Regions from separate parts of the Homo sapiens genome. Here region 1 is linked to region 2. Evidence: promoter capture Hi-C in human tissues and cell types (Jung and others, 2019). All regions are on one chromosome and are shown on one strand. The core of a region is centred on a gene start or on the middle of the fragment in contact, and the rest is flanking DNA. Distances in the headings are between cores, read along the strand shown.

Region 1 (6,804 bases), core at 4,242-6,741, 110 kb after region 2:
CTGATATTTGGAAACTATATAACACAACTCCAAACAACTGATGGGTCAAAGAATCAAGGGGAAAATTACAAAGTATTTTTAAGTGAATAAAAATGAAACTACAACATATCAAAATTTGTGGGATACCTCTAAAGAAGTACAGAGACAATTACAAAACATTGCTTAAAAAAATTAAAGGAGACCTAAATAAATGAAGAGATAGATCAAGTTCATGGGTTGAAAAATATCAATATTGTAAGGTGTCAATTCTTCCCAAATTGATGTACTACAGATCCAATGCAATCCCAGTAAAAATTCCAGCATACTTTTTTTCATAGAAATCAGTAAACTTATTCTGAGGTTCATATGAAAATGCAAAGAACCTAGAATGCTTAAGCAATTTTGAAAAAGAACACAGTTGGAGGACTAATACTACCTCACTTCAAGACATATTATAAAGCTACAGTAATCAAGTTGTTGTGGTATTATCATAAAAACTGACAAATTGATAAATAGAACAGAATAGAGAAAGAGTCCAGAAATAGACCCACACATATAGGGACAGCTACTTTTTGACAAAAGTGTAAAGACAATTCAATGGCAAAAGGATAGTATTTTCAACAAATGGTGCTGGAACATTTAGATATTCATGTGCAAATAAATAAATAAACTTCAATCCATTCCTCATGATATATAAAATGTTTAACTTAATATGCATCATAAACCTAAATGTAAAACCAACAACTATAAAACATATAGAAGAAAGCATAAATGAAATCTATTACCTTGGGTTGGGCAAGATCACATTGATAAACTGGACTTCATCAAAATTACAAACATCTACCCTTCTTAAAATATTCCTATGGTAATGAAATGGCAAGTCACAGATTGGGAAAAAATAATTACAAACCATGAATCTGATAAACAAGTTGTATCGAGAATATATAAACTCTCAAAGCTCAGTTTAAAAAGATTTAAACCCCAATTTTTAGAAATAGGCAAAAGATCTGAACAAACACACCAAAGAATATATAGAGGCAAATAAGCACAAGAAAAGGGGCATATCATTAGTCATTAGGAAAATGCCTTCTTTTGAGAAGTGTCTGTTCATATCCTTCACCCACTTTGTGATGGGGTTGTTTGTTTTTTTCTTGTAAATTTGTTTGAGTTCATTATAGATTCTGGATATTAGCCCTTTGTCAGATGAGTAGGTTGCGAAAATTTTCTCCCATTTTGTAGGTTGCCTGTTCACTCTGATGGTAGTTTCTTTTGCTGTGCAGAAGCTCTTTAGTTTAATTCGATCCCATTTGTCAATTTTGGCTTTTGTTGCCATTGCTTTTGGTGTTTTAGACATGAAGTCCTTGCCCATGCCTATGTCCTGAATGGTAATGCCTAGGTTTTCTTCTAGGGTTTTTATGGTTTTAGGTCTAACGTTTAAGTCTTTAATCCATCATGAATTGATTTTTGTATAAGGTGTAAGGAAGGGATCCAGTTTCAGCTTTCTACTTATGGCTAGCCAGTTTTCCCAGCACCATTTATTAAATAGGGAATCCTTTCCCCATTGCTTGTTTTTCTCAGGTTTGTCAAAGATCAGATGGTTGTAGATATGCGGCGTTATTTCTGAGGGCTCTGTTCTGTTCCATTGATCTATATCTCTGTTTTGGTACCAGTACCATGCTGTTTTGGTTACTGTAGCCTTGTAGTATAGTTTGAAGTCAGGTAGAATGATGCCTCCAGCTTTGTTCTTTTGGCTTAGGATTGACTTGGTGATGCGGGCTCTTTTTTGGTTCCATATGCACTTTAAAGTAGTTTTTTCCAATTCTGTGAAGAAAGTCATTGGTAGCTTGATGGGGATGGCATTGAATCTATAAATTACCTTGGGCAGTATGGCCATTTTCATGATATTGATTCTTCCTACCCATGAGCATGGAATGTTCTTCCATTTGTTTGTATCCTCTTTTATTTCATTGAGCAGTGGTTTGTAGTTCTCCTTGAAGAGGTCCTTCATGTCCCTTGTAAGTTGGATTCCTAAGTATTTTATTCTCTTTGAAGCAATTGTGAATGGGAGTTCACTCATGATTTGGCTCTCTGTTTGTCTGTTATTGGTGTATAAGAATGCTTGTGATTTTTGTACATTGATTTTGTATCCTGAGACTTTGCTGAAGTTGCTGATCAGCTTAAGGAGATTTTGGGCTGAGACGATGGGGTTTTCTAGATATACAATCATGTCGTCTGCAAACAGGGACAATTTGACTTCCTCTTTTCCTAATTGAATACCCTTTATTTCCTTCTCCTGCCTAATTGCCCTGGCCAGAACTTCCAACACTACGTTGAATAGGAGTGGTGAAAGAGGGCATCCCTGTCTTGTGCCAGTTTTCAAAGGGAATGCTTCCAGTTTTTGCCCATTCAGTATGATTTTGGCTGTGGGTTTGTCATAGATGGCTCTTATTATTTTGAGGTATGTCCCATCAATACCTAATTTATTGAGAGTTTTTAGCATGAAGGGTTGTTGAATGAAAATGCTAACTAGAACCACAATGAGACCATTATAAACTTATTCAAATGACTACAAACGGGAAAGACTGACCATACCAACTAGTGGCAAGGATGTACAGGAAATGGAACTCTCGTACACTGCTGCGAACCTAAAATTGTACAACCACTTGGAAAAAAAGTTTGGCAGTTACTTAAAAATGTAAATATACACTTATTCTATGATCCATCCATTCCACTCCCACATATTTACCTAAGAGAAATGAGAGTAAGTGTACATGCAAAGACTTGTACACAACATGTTCATACCAAGAGGAAAAGGTATTCAAACTTCAGCACAATTTAAGACAAAAGTATAGTATTTCTTCAGTGTAGATTTATTAAATGCCTATAGAACAGGGTTTTGATTTGCTTTTTCTGTTTCTTGAAAGAGCTAATGCAGTTGTTGAAGCTTCTAACCAAGACAGAACTTAAGTAATTGGGAGACTTGGTCCCCTTGTTTTCAGGGCTGTGCCTATAACTCCCTCCCCACCTTTGGATATTGCTTAAATATGGCAAAAGGATTTCTAGTTTTTATAACTAATAGTTTTTGTTTGTTTGTTTGCTTGCTTGCTTGCTTGCGGATTTGCATAATCATTGATGCTTACTATTGCTGATTCATAATATAAAGAATGACTCCTGTCCTCCATATTTATGCATGTGCTAGAAATAGTATACATGATATAAAGAGTATGAAGTTTTCGTAAGCATTTATATTTCAAGCTCTTTATTTAAACATTGTTGAAACATGTGGCATAAACCTTGTTTCATTTATTTAATAAACTAGAGTAGTATAAAATAATTTAAAAACAGACACTTGTACACAAATGATCATAGTAGCTTAATTTGTAATAGTATAAACCTGGAAACAACCCAAATGTCCATCAATAGATGAATGGGTAAACAAATTGTGGTATATCCATACAATGAAATACTACTCGTCAATAAAAATAACATATTGATACACACTGTGATTGTGGATAAATTTCAAAATAATTGTGCTGTGTGAAAGAGGCCAGACCCCCCTGAAAAAGAATACTCTATGTTTCCCCTTTACATAAAATCCTAGGAATTACAAACTAATGAATAGTGACTGAAAGCAGATCACCAGTTGAGGACAGAGGAGCAACCAGAAGGGCTGGGAAAGAGGGATTACCAAGGCTAACAAAGAAACTTTTGAGGGAAATGTTCATTTTCATGATTACAGTAATAGCTGCAGATGTGTGTCCATATATCACAACTTATCAAATTGTACATTTTAAATAAATGCAGTTTATTGTATGTCAATCATACTTCAATAAAGCTGTTTTCTTTTTTAAAAAAAGTATGCCAAAAATTTGAAAATCTAGATTAAATATATTTCTAAAAAAAATTAAAATATCAATAATAACACAAGAAGAGATTGACAACCTGAAGACCAATAACCATGAAATAAATAAATAATAAAAGGCTCCCCCCACCCATCCCCACAAAGCTTCACACAATAGCAGTTTTAAAGATGAGTTCCACCATTTTCCTTTTACCTTTTACTTGTTTAAAAAAAAATGATACACAAAAACCATTTCATTTAAGTAATTATTTTAAGGGGGCCATACTTGTAACTGCAATTTTGGTCAAGAAATAGAGCTATGCCAGTCATGCTTGAAGCCCTTCCATGTGCCTTCCATAACACAATTGCCTTCTGTCTCTCAAATATAACCTATTAATCTGACTTTTAAGTAATTCTTTCCTTGTGTTTCTTATAATTTTATCACCCAAATGTGTTTTCCTGAACACTACACTTTTGTCTTGCTATGACTGTTTCATATTTGATATGTCTTTAGAGACACTCTTCACTTATAATTTTCCCCTATATTGCCTTACAGTTCATCTGTTGAAGAATCTGGGCTGCCTGACGTGTAGAGTCTCCCACAATCTGGACTTTGTTAATTGCCTTCATGGTGTGGTTCAACATGTTCTGTTTTCTGTATTTCCTGTAAATCAGCAGCTAGTCTCAGGTTCAATCCCTTTGTCAACATAGTAGGTGTTGCATTCTTTCACTTGGAGACACACAATGTCTGGATGGGCTCATTTTCTGATGTTATCAGCTGTTGATTATTTTTGCCTGGATCTACTAATTCACTGAAGGTTGAAAAATAGTAATCTAATGGTATCATTTCTCTTTTTGAGGTGGAAAAGTTTTATGAAGATTTTGGATTTTAACATATTTTATGAGTTTTTATGCATTGTAATTGTTATGCTTACTGTGGTAGATTAGAAAATATGGACACAATATTTTGCATATTCTCCCATCAAGAAATGAAATTTAGTTCTCCATCCTCATTTAAACTGAACTGGCCTTGTGACATGCTCTGACCAACAGAATGTGGTAGAAATTAAGTTTTACAACTTCTGAATCTAGGCATAAAGAGGCCTGGCAATTTCTGCTTTCACCCACTTGGAGCACTGTCCTGAGTCCACCTGATCTAATCTACAGGAGGATGAAAGGCCTTTGGAGGAAAAGTTAGGGCACCCCTACCTATATTCCCATATAACCACTCACCATTTGAGCAAGAGCATCTTGGGACATCCCCACCATGCTTGAAGTGTAACTACAGGAATTAGCTCAGACTAGACCAGCAGAACTGCCAACTATTCTACAAAATTATGAGGAATACAATTGAATCTCATTATTCACAGAAGTTATGTTTTATAAAGTCATCATGAGGACTGAATGCGTGAATACTGAATCATTGCTCCTAGAGGAAATGTAGGGTTAGATTCCTGTGAGCCTCTAGTCAAAATAGACTCATCAACCAGTCAACATATAACCTTGTTTTATGTATGTTCCTTTAAAGACATCTCCTTTAGCACACTCGACTGGTTGAACTCCCAGGCAACAGAACTATGCATGCCTAAGGAAAGCTTATCTAACACGCCTATTTTTCCTCCATAAGGCACATCACAGCCTTATTGCACTTAGGAGCACTAACCAGCATTTCAGCAGTACTCTTGGGGTCCTTTTATTTATTTATTTTGAGATGGAGTCTTGCTCCGTCACCCAGGCTGGAGTGTAGTGGCATGATCACAGCTCACTGTAACCTCTGCCTCCCAGGTTCAAGCAATTCTCCTGCCTCAGCCTCCTGAGTAGCTAGGATTACAGGCATGCGCCACCATGCCCAGCTAATTTTTGTATTTTTAGTAGAGACCGGGTTTCACCATGTTGGCCAGGCTGGTCTCGAACTCCTGACCTTATGATCTGCCCGCCTTGGCTTCTCAAAGTGCTGGGATTACAGGCGTGAGCCACCGCACCTGGCCCCAGGGCCCTTTTAAACAGCAAAATCACCAACAACAAGCACAAAAATGTTTTTTTAAAAGTGACAGTTAAGAGATGACAAAAAAGATACTTGTTTACAGTAAGAGAGATGAAAGCAGACAAAATAGCACATTGTACAGCCTCAGCTAGGAACTTAGGCATCAGAAAACTCAAATTTTTCCATGCCCTGGGCATGTCCAAAAATCACTCTGAGTACTGATTTGGGGGTTAAAATAAATTTCAGCAAGTAGGTGAATTTGCAAGTACGAATGCTTGAACAATGAGAATTGACCATAATACAATGTGTTGTTTTAGGCCACTGAGTTTGGGGTGATTGTTACACAGCAATAGAATCCTGAAACACACAAAGACATCTTTTGCCAGGCAGGGTAACTTAGATTGGGTTCCCTGAACATAGGCTCTGAGAGAGAATTCTGTCCAACGGTTTGTTGAGGAGTGCTCATAGGAGAAGCTGCTCACAGAAGGCAGTTGCAACTGACATCTCAGCTGATCCTACAAGAGGCCTTTCCAAGTTGTCCCAAATTGAGGGAAGAAGACTGGGCCTTTATATCTCTGCATAGCAATTATTTGCTATGGGATACCCCTGTGAAGAGACTTAATCTTGAGGGAATCAGTTCCCTGAGGCTGAGTGCCCATTTTGTGAGGGGTGCAGCTGTGAATCAGTATCTTCAGAAGCTGAGGGATGGCTGTGATTTCTCTGCAATGGGATCTAGCAGGAACACCACATGTCAGAACACAGGGTGCCTCTTCTGATTGGTTCTGAGTCCTGTTGACATGATAGCTTCCTTGCTATCTGGTATGACAAGAAATTTCAGGCTTATTTTATATATTTCCTGTTTCATACCTGTAAATTTTTCAAGCCATTTCTCCAAGAAGCCCTGGTTTCTTTTGGTGGCAAACAGTATTTCTTGTTGTTGTTGTTGTTGTTGTTGTTGTTGTTGTTGTTGTTGTTGTTTGGGGGGGGATGGAATTTTGTT
Region 2 (7,303 bases), core at 730-3,229:
TTTGTTTGTATTTCTTTCTATTCTTTTTTTTTTTTTTTTTTAGAGATGGGATCTCACTATGTTGACGAGGCTGGTCTCAAACTCCTAGCCTCAAGTGATCAACCCATCTTGGCCTCCCAAAGTGCTGGGATTACAGGCGTGAGCCACTGCGCCCAGCCAAAGAGGATCACAGCTTTTCAAACTACTTAAGTCTCCCCTCAAAAGGACAAACAGGTGGAAGGGGGCTTCTCTGGGTGTGGGGATCTGGTCCTTAGACTCCCCACCCCACAAAGCAGCCTATGACTCCGGGGGTGAGTCCTCCAGACTCAAGTTGGCAACTGTTAATCTGGGAGTCTTCCACATCTGTGGCCCCAAAGGGATCTATAACCCTGGGAAACTGAGTCACACCACCCAGAGGAACGGGCAGAAGTTAAGCATGGCTGGTGAGGCAGTGGGTTGGGGGAAGGCCGCAGTGGAAGCTGGGATTCTGGTTAGGTGACCCTGAGGGACCCAGCTCCCAGGCTAGGGAGTCTGGGGCTTCATCCTGGAAGTGATGAGGAGAGTGTAAGTGCAGGGGTGAGGCAGCGTGAATGTGCATGAGTGTGCACGTTTGCAGGGCAGGAGGAGGAGGTGCTGAACCTTAATATGAGGAGGATCCTGCAGGAGTACCCCCCTCCCCAACCCCTGTCCCATCCCTAACCTTCCCCCTTCCAGTCAAGGGCATAGCTTCCTCACCCTCTCCCTCCCTCCAGTTCAAAGGTTCCTTAGTGACAGGCTGTGCCTAATGTACAGATGGGGAAACTGAGGCCCAGGAACAATGGGAGGGTCCAGAGACCCTTGTGTAGAACTTGTGCAGGGCTCAGACCCAGACTTCTGGCTCCAGCCCACCAGGTTCACCTAGCTAGATGGCTCAGAGAGGGTGGGCAACTCACCTGAGGCACAGAGCAAGATCCTGACGGGCCCTGCCTCACAGCTGTCCTCAGGCAGCCCTGATGCTCACCACGGGGTGCGGTGGGGTGGGGCAGGGTGAGGACAGAACTGGCCAGTCACGGCGTGCCCAGGTGAGTCAGCGGCTGCCCCTGTGGCGCTCTAACCAGTAGCCAGACCTGGTCTCTCCTCTGCATTCCTGGCCTCTGTCCACGCTAGGTCCCTCCCGGGCAGGGTCACTGGGGCCTTCCCTGTCCTCTCCCAGGCCTGGCTCCTTAGGCCCCTGACACACCTTGTCGTGACACTCACTCACTCTGGTATTTCCTGGTCTGAACAGGCAGGGAAGTTCTGCCTGCTGTGGAGGCTTTTTCATGGGCTGCCGTGGCAGCCCCTTCGTTGTCTGGTGCCCAGTGGGGGAGAGTAGAGACACGCACTGCCCCAGGGAGGGGGCGCTGAACTGTCACACCTGATCCCTCAGTCTCATGCTCGCCTCTCCCCGCTGCACCCTTCCTCGGCCCCACCATGGCTACAAGCCTCTTGTCCTAGACAAGCACCCCTCCCTGCTGTCGCATATGTCCCAGCTTCCCTTCCTCTCCCTGCCCAGGCACACACTCAGTCGCTGGAGTTTCCCAGACCCGAGCTCCTGTTCCGGCCGCCAGGCATTTGCCATGCCGCTCCCATGCGAAAAGGCCACCTCCTGGAATCCCGGGTCGGGCCCTTCCGCCCTAACCAGCCGGCGTCACCTCCTCCTGGCAGTCTCTCCTGCTGGCTGGGGCCCCGTGGCCCTGCCACCACGGCTCAGGTCAGGCCCGGGGCGCTGCCCCGAACCCAAGCAGGCTAGCAGCCAGGCAGGGAGGACGACGCTGTGAGCGGGGTATCTTACGAGGGACTCGGACGGCCGGGGGATGACTGCCGCCGGGACCAAGGAGCTGGGCGGGGACCGCAGCAGCCGAGGAGGCGGGAGCCCCCACCTGGACGAGCTAAGCGTGGAGCGCAGACACCCGTCCGCAGACGCGCGCCCTTCGTCGCGCCCTTACCTGAGCGCTGTGGTTGCCCCGCGCCGGGACTGCCTGTGCGGCTCCTCGCTCGCACCCCCACCCTGCCCCCTGCCAGTCCCGCCCCCTGCCAGCCCCGCCCCCTTCGCCCAGCCCCGCCCCGCCCCGCCTCCGGGTGTTGCTCTGGAGTTGCGGGGGCCACGGGCGGGCCACCGAGGAGCTGGCGCGCGGTATTGATCCGTCCCGCCGCCCCAAGCCTCTCCTGAGGCCTCCCTCTGGCGTCCCCCGGGATCCGGAGGCCCCTGGGACCCGGCGCGGGGAGGAAAAGTGGGAGTCTTGACCCCTCCGCCCCCTACGCACCCACGCGCACACTCAGGCTCGCCTCTCGCGCCCCGCTTCCCCTGCAAGGCTCCGAGGCCGCCGTGCCACCACCTCGCCCCGCCAGTCAGTCGCTCTGCGAGCCTGTGGTGCAGCCCCGTGACCTCCCGGGTCTGCCCTGAGTCACAGAAGCCAGCACACGCGGAGCGCTGTGTGGGTTCGTGGAACTTGGAGCCTGTAGAGGGGTATACTGAGGCGCCCTGCGGCCCCCTGGGCTGGGTGTCCACGGCCGGCCGCCCCTCCTGTGCGACCTTGGGGAAGTCCCCTTTCCTCCCCACTCCTGAGTCTCAACAGGCCTAGTAGAGCATGAAGCCGGCCGCGTGTGCTTTGTGCGAAGGCCTGAGACCTTGGAAAGGGTGGCTGAAGACTTATCTGGGACAGACCCCCCGGGAGCGGGAGGGAACTTAGTTCAAACCTGTAACAAAGAAGCCCCCCGTCAGCAGCCTGATTCCCCCTCTGGCCACCAGGTTAGTCACCCATTGCTCTCAGTGGCACTCAGGTTCCAGTGAGGGGGAGGCTCAGGGTCCAAGGCGGCCGTGGAAGAGCAGAAAGGGTGGCCCACCAGCCCCCTACTCAGCCCCCTACTGAGGAGGTGGGAGGCATCCCCCAACCTGCCAGGCTGAAGAGACCCCCAGTGGAGGTAAGTAGGGGCCTGGGGCCTGCCAAGCTCATCCCCTGGCTCCCTTGGGTTGTTGCGAGGTGGGAGTTTACTGTCTGCCAAGCTGCACATCACCCCTTGGAGGGTTTCCAGCCTGGGACCCTTGTCTGAGTGACTGCAGGTCCCAGTGACCTCACCCTTTTGCCCCACATTGCTCTCCTCCTGGGTCCCAATCCTGCAGAGCCGCCCCTTCCTGCTTCTCCATCCCTCCCCACATTGCCAAAGCCCGCCCTAGCTCTGGCCTCCCCTTTTCCAGCCTTGTTTTCTTGCCCCCTTCTGCACCCCCTGCTGCCTGAGGGGCTCCACTCCCAAAGGCCTTGCTCCTCTGGTCCCTGCCTGCTAGAGGTGTTGCTGTGTTGGTGGGTGGGGGCTACCTCAAGGAGGCTTCTGGTGAGGTGTCCCTCTGGCCCTCTGGGAAAGCCTCCCCTCCCCATGCCCTCCACCCCCAGGCTCCGGACCTTGGCCCCCACTCCCCTTCACAGCCCTGTTGGCCTGCGGGACTGTCTGCTGGGGCACTTGGCTCCCTGAGTCTACAGCACAGCCTGGCAGAGCCACCGCCCCAGCAGGTGGAATGAACTGAGGCTTCAGGTTCTAAACAGGCCTCCAAGGTCTTCCCTGTGGGGATCCTTTGTGCCTGTGGGGCAGTGGGAGGTAGCGGTACATTCTGGAAGAGCTGGTATGGGGCCTTGTGCTGCTTTCCTCTTGCTGTGTGATCACAGGCAGTGTGTGGCCTCTCTGTAACGTAGTGCCCCTGCTGGTGAAATATCTTACCTGCGCCTCCTTCTCGGGGTTATGTGGGACTCTGAGAGGAGGGGTATGGTGGGTTCAAGGGGCTCCTTCAGGGATGAGCACGGTTTAGAGGATCTATGGGTCCCCTAGAGCATGGGTGTGGGCCACCAGGCATCCCTGGGGCTTAGGAGGGAGGCAAGGGCTGGAGAGTGGCCATGGCCTCAGGAGGAGCATATGGCCTCACCACTTGTGACGAACAGGGACAGGTGGGGCAAGGCCCCGAGCAGGACAGATCTGATCTTATGCTAGGTGTCTCTGGGCCTCACTTTCATCATCTGCACGTGCAGCTGAGGGAAGGCAGTGCTGCCTGGGCTCGAGCAGGAAGGGAAGGGCTCCCACGGCTTCCTCCCTAGAGCACAGACTTCCTGTTCAGCCACATCTAGGGGAATAGAAAGGCTGACTGAGCTCTGGGCAGCAGACCAGTCCTTCCCCCATTCCCTGGGTGACCTCATGGGCATTGCAAGCCCAGTTTTCCTATCTGCTAAATGGGGCAAGACCTGCCCAGCCTCTCTTACAGCTCATTCTTGGCTTGGGGCCAGGTAAGGCCTCTGGTAGTGCCCAAAGGACAGCCTCTGCTGAGTCCACCTGCCTTCAGTCCCCTGCAGCACAGCCAAGGGCCCCTAGCCAATCCCACCACAGATGTGTATACCCACCCACACCACTCCCACACCCGCTGCACACAGATACAATTCCACAGTCAGGGAATGGGTGGGTCCCTGTGCCACATGGACCCATCTACCATTGAACCCACTGGTAAGGACTCCAAGTTGCACAACTCTAGTGGCAGCCCTGGGTATGCGTGTGCAGATCATGTGCCCATCCACAGGGACACAGACCTGCACACTACTCCAGGGAACACACACGTATGTGAATGGCACCTGTGATTCTGGAGCCATTGAGACTCATACCCAGCCACACACAAAGCTGCATGCAGAATGCACATGCACTCCCATGTGCACCAGTGCCTTAGTACACAAAGCACATGCTCAAGCACACGCAGGTCTGACACAGGCCTGGCCCAGCCCCACAGCTATTCTGAGCTGAGCCTGGGGCTGATGAGGTCAGGGACAGCCAACTCCCAGCAGGCCCCAGCTGCTGTGGCACAGGCCTAGGCTGCCCAGCTCCCACCCCCACCCTAGGCTGAGTCCCTGGATCCTAGCCTAGCTTTGTGACTGGGGGTCCTCATTTCCTACCCCCAGCTCCCCCAGAGCTAAACTTTAAGCCCTGGGATTTCAGGCTCCAGGAGAGAACATTCCACAGGGTCCTCTGGCCACTACCCCCTGCCTTGCTCACAGCTTCCAGTTCAGAGGCCCTGGAGGCTGGACTGGGTCCCTACAGGAAACTCACAGGAGCTAAAATTAGTACAGGAGGGAGAAGCAGGGATCTGCAGACCAGCATTCACAGCACCATGTATGGAGGGGACACTGTCTTCCAGGGAGCAAGGGTGGGGGACTTGGAGTCCAGAGGTCCCCAACCCCAGATATGATGGGCCCAACTGATTTTGGGGTGCAGGGGGATGTGGAGGCCTCCTAAGAAGCAGAAACAGTACTGGACACTGAGCAGTGTCCTGGGTTGGAGGCAAAGGCTGAGGTGGAGGCCATAGTTCCTGTGTGACCTTAGGCAGGGCATAACCCCTCTATGAGCTTAAATTCCTCACTGAAAAGCCCTCAGAGATGTAAAGTCCCTCAAAGATGGGGGAAAAAAAAACCCATGTGGTGTTAGGTATTGATTTTCATCCTCGGCTACTGGCTCATAGCTCCCATTGCCCTTGTTACGGTCTTTGGCTATAATGTGTTGGGCCTCAGGGCAGGCCCCAGGAAACGGAATCTCTCTGACCTTCTCCTGCTCTGCTTTCACCTGCCCCAAGTCAGGACCCTAATTTTCCCACACCTTTCTGATTGCGAGTCTTAAGACCCTCCCCAGAGAGGGTCCTGCCCTATACTCTGGGAGGAAGGAATGCAGATGTCGTGAAGCCTCCATAAACCCCAAGAGGACAGGGTTCAGAGGGCTTCTGAATAGCTGAACGTGTGGAGGCTGGGTGGCATGCCCAGGAGGGCATGGAAGCTCCATACCCCTTCCTCCATATCTCGCCCTATGCATCTCTTCAGCTGTATCCTTCGTAATACCCTTTACAGTAAGCCAGTAAAAGTCAGTCAGTGCTTCCCTGAGTTCTGTGACCCACTCCAGCAAATTAAGCCCAAAGAGGAGGTTGTAGGAACCCCAGCGTGAAGCCAGTTGGTCAGAAGTTCCAGAGGCCAGACTGGCAACTGGTGTCTTGGGGCTGGGTGGGCAGTCTTGGGAACTGAGGCCTCAATCTGTGGGATCTGACACTATCTCCGGGTAGATCATGTCAGAATCGAATTGGAAGGCACTCAGTTGGTGTCTGCTGCTTGGCATTTAGGGAAAAAACCCACACATTTGATCACAGAAGACTTCTGTGTGGATGATTGTTGTTGTGTTGGTGTACGAGCAGAGGAAAAGATATAGTTTGAGAGAGTTTTCAAAACTACTTTAACTTTCAGGATGTTCGCCTTAACGTGGTGTTTAATACTGGAGAATTGGAAGCAATGGAAATGTCCAACAATAGGACAGAGATCCAACAAGGTTTTTTGTTTCTTTTGTTTTGTTTTGTTTTGTTTCTTTTTTTTGAGATGGAGTCTTGCTTTCGCCCAGGCTGGAGTGCAGTGGCGCCATCTCAGCTCACTGCAACCACCTCCTGGGTTCAAGCAATTCTCCTGCCTCAGCCTCCCGACTAGTTGGGACTACAGGCACGTGCTACCGGCTAATGTTTTGTATTTTTAGTAGAGATGGGGTTTCACTGTGTTAGCCAGGATGGTCTCGATCTCCTGACCTCATGATCCGCCCACCTGAGCCTCCCAAAGTGCTGGGATTACAGGTGTGAGCCACCGCACCTGGCCCTTGCTGAGTTTTTATACAGTGTAGTATCACACAGCCTTTAACAAGAATGATAATAATTATAATGACTAGCGTTTAATGAAGGCTTGTGATATGCTGGTGCATGATACTGAATTAAAAAAAAAAATAGAGATGGCGTCTTGCTATGTTGCCCAGGCTAGTCTTGAACTCCTGGGCTCAAATGATCCTCCTGCCTTGGTCTCCCAAAGGTGTGAGCCACTGCACCTGGCCCATGATCCTGAATTATATCTGTTTTACAGATGAGGGACTGAAGCTCAGAGGGGTTAAGTAGCCCACCTGAGGGTTCACAGCCGGCAGTATGCTCATGTCCCAGAAACCTTAGTGCAGTTTTAAGCTTTAACAACTTCAGAAGTTAGGACATATAAAGCTATGAATTTACCAAAAAATTTTTTGGAAAGTTTGTTTAAATTCTCTTATGCTACTTTAGTTTTGTGAATTTTGAATGACCTAAGTTTCTTTTTCTTTTCTTTTCTTTTTTTATTTTTTATTTTTTATTTTTTAGAGAGACAGGGGTCTCACTATATTGCTTAGGCTGGTCTCAAACTCCTGGTCTCAAGCATTCCTCCCACCTCAACTTCCCAGTGTTAGGATTACAGGCATGAGCCACCACACTCAGCCGACTTAAATTTCTTTCAGTCAA

What was found. The method cuts DNA at HindIII sites, captures the fragments that hold promoters and counts their contacts. A contact is called where the count stands out against the background at its distance.
Region 1: a fragment that was not itself captured here is called in contact with the fragment with the promoter of ALS2CL in region 2 in 2 of the 25 tissues and cell types used here (mesenchymal stem cells and mesendoderm cells).

The regions. Positions count from the first base shown.
Region 1 is chr3:46,799,792-46,806,595 of GRCh38, forward strand. No RefSeq gene overlaps it. Among named protein-coding and RNA genes, the nearest start is that of MYL3, 60 kb to the right of the region's middle. The HindIII fragment of the contact is 4,074 bases long and covers 3,455-6,804 here.
Region 2 is chr3:46,691,700-46,699,002 of GRCh38, forward strand. ALS2CL (ALS2 C-terminal like) reads right to left here and starts at 1,980. Exons shown (of 26, transcript NM_147129.5): 1 at 1,944-1,980. It also overlaps a transcript of TMIE not described here. RefSeq lists enhancers at 544-1,335, 2,917-3,706, 4,796-5,295 and silencers at 1,780-2,074, 1,805-2,054, 2,205-2,284. The HindIII fragment of the contact is 18,920 bases long and covers 1-7,303 here.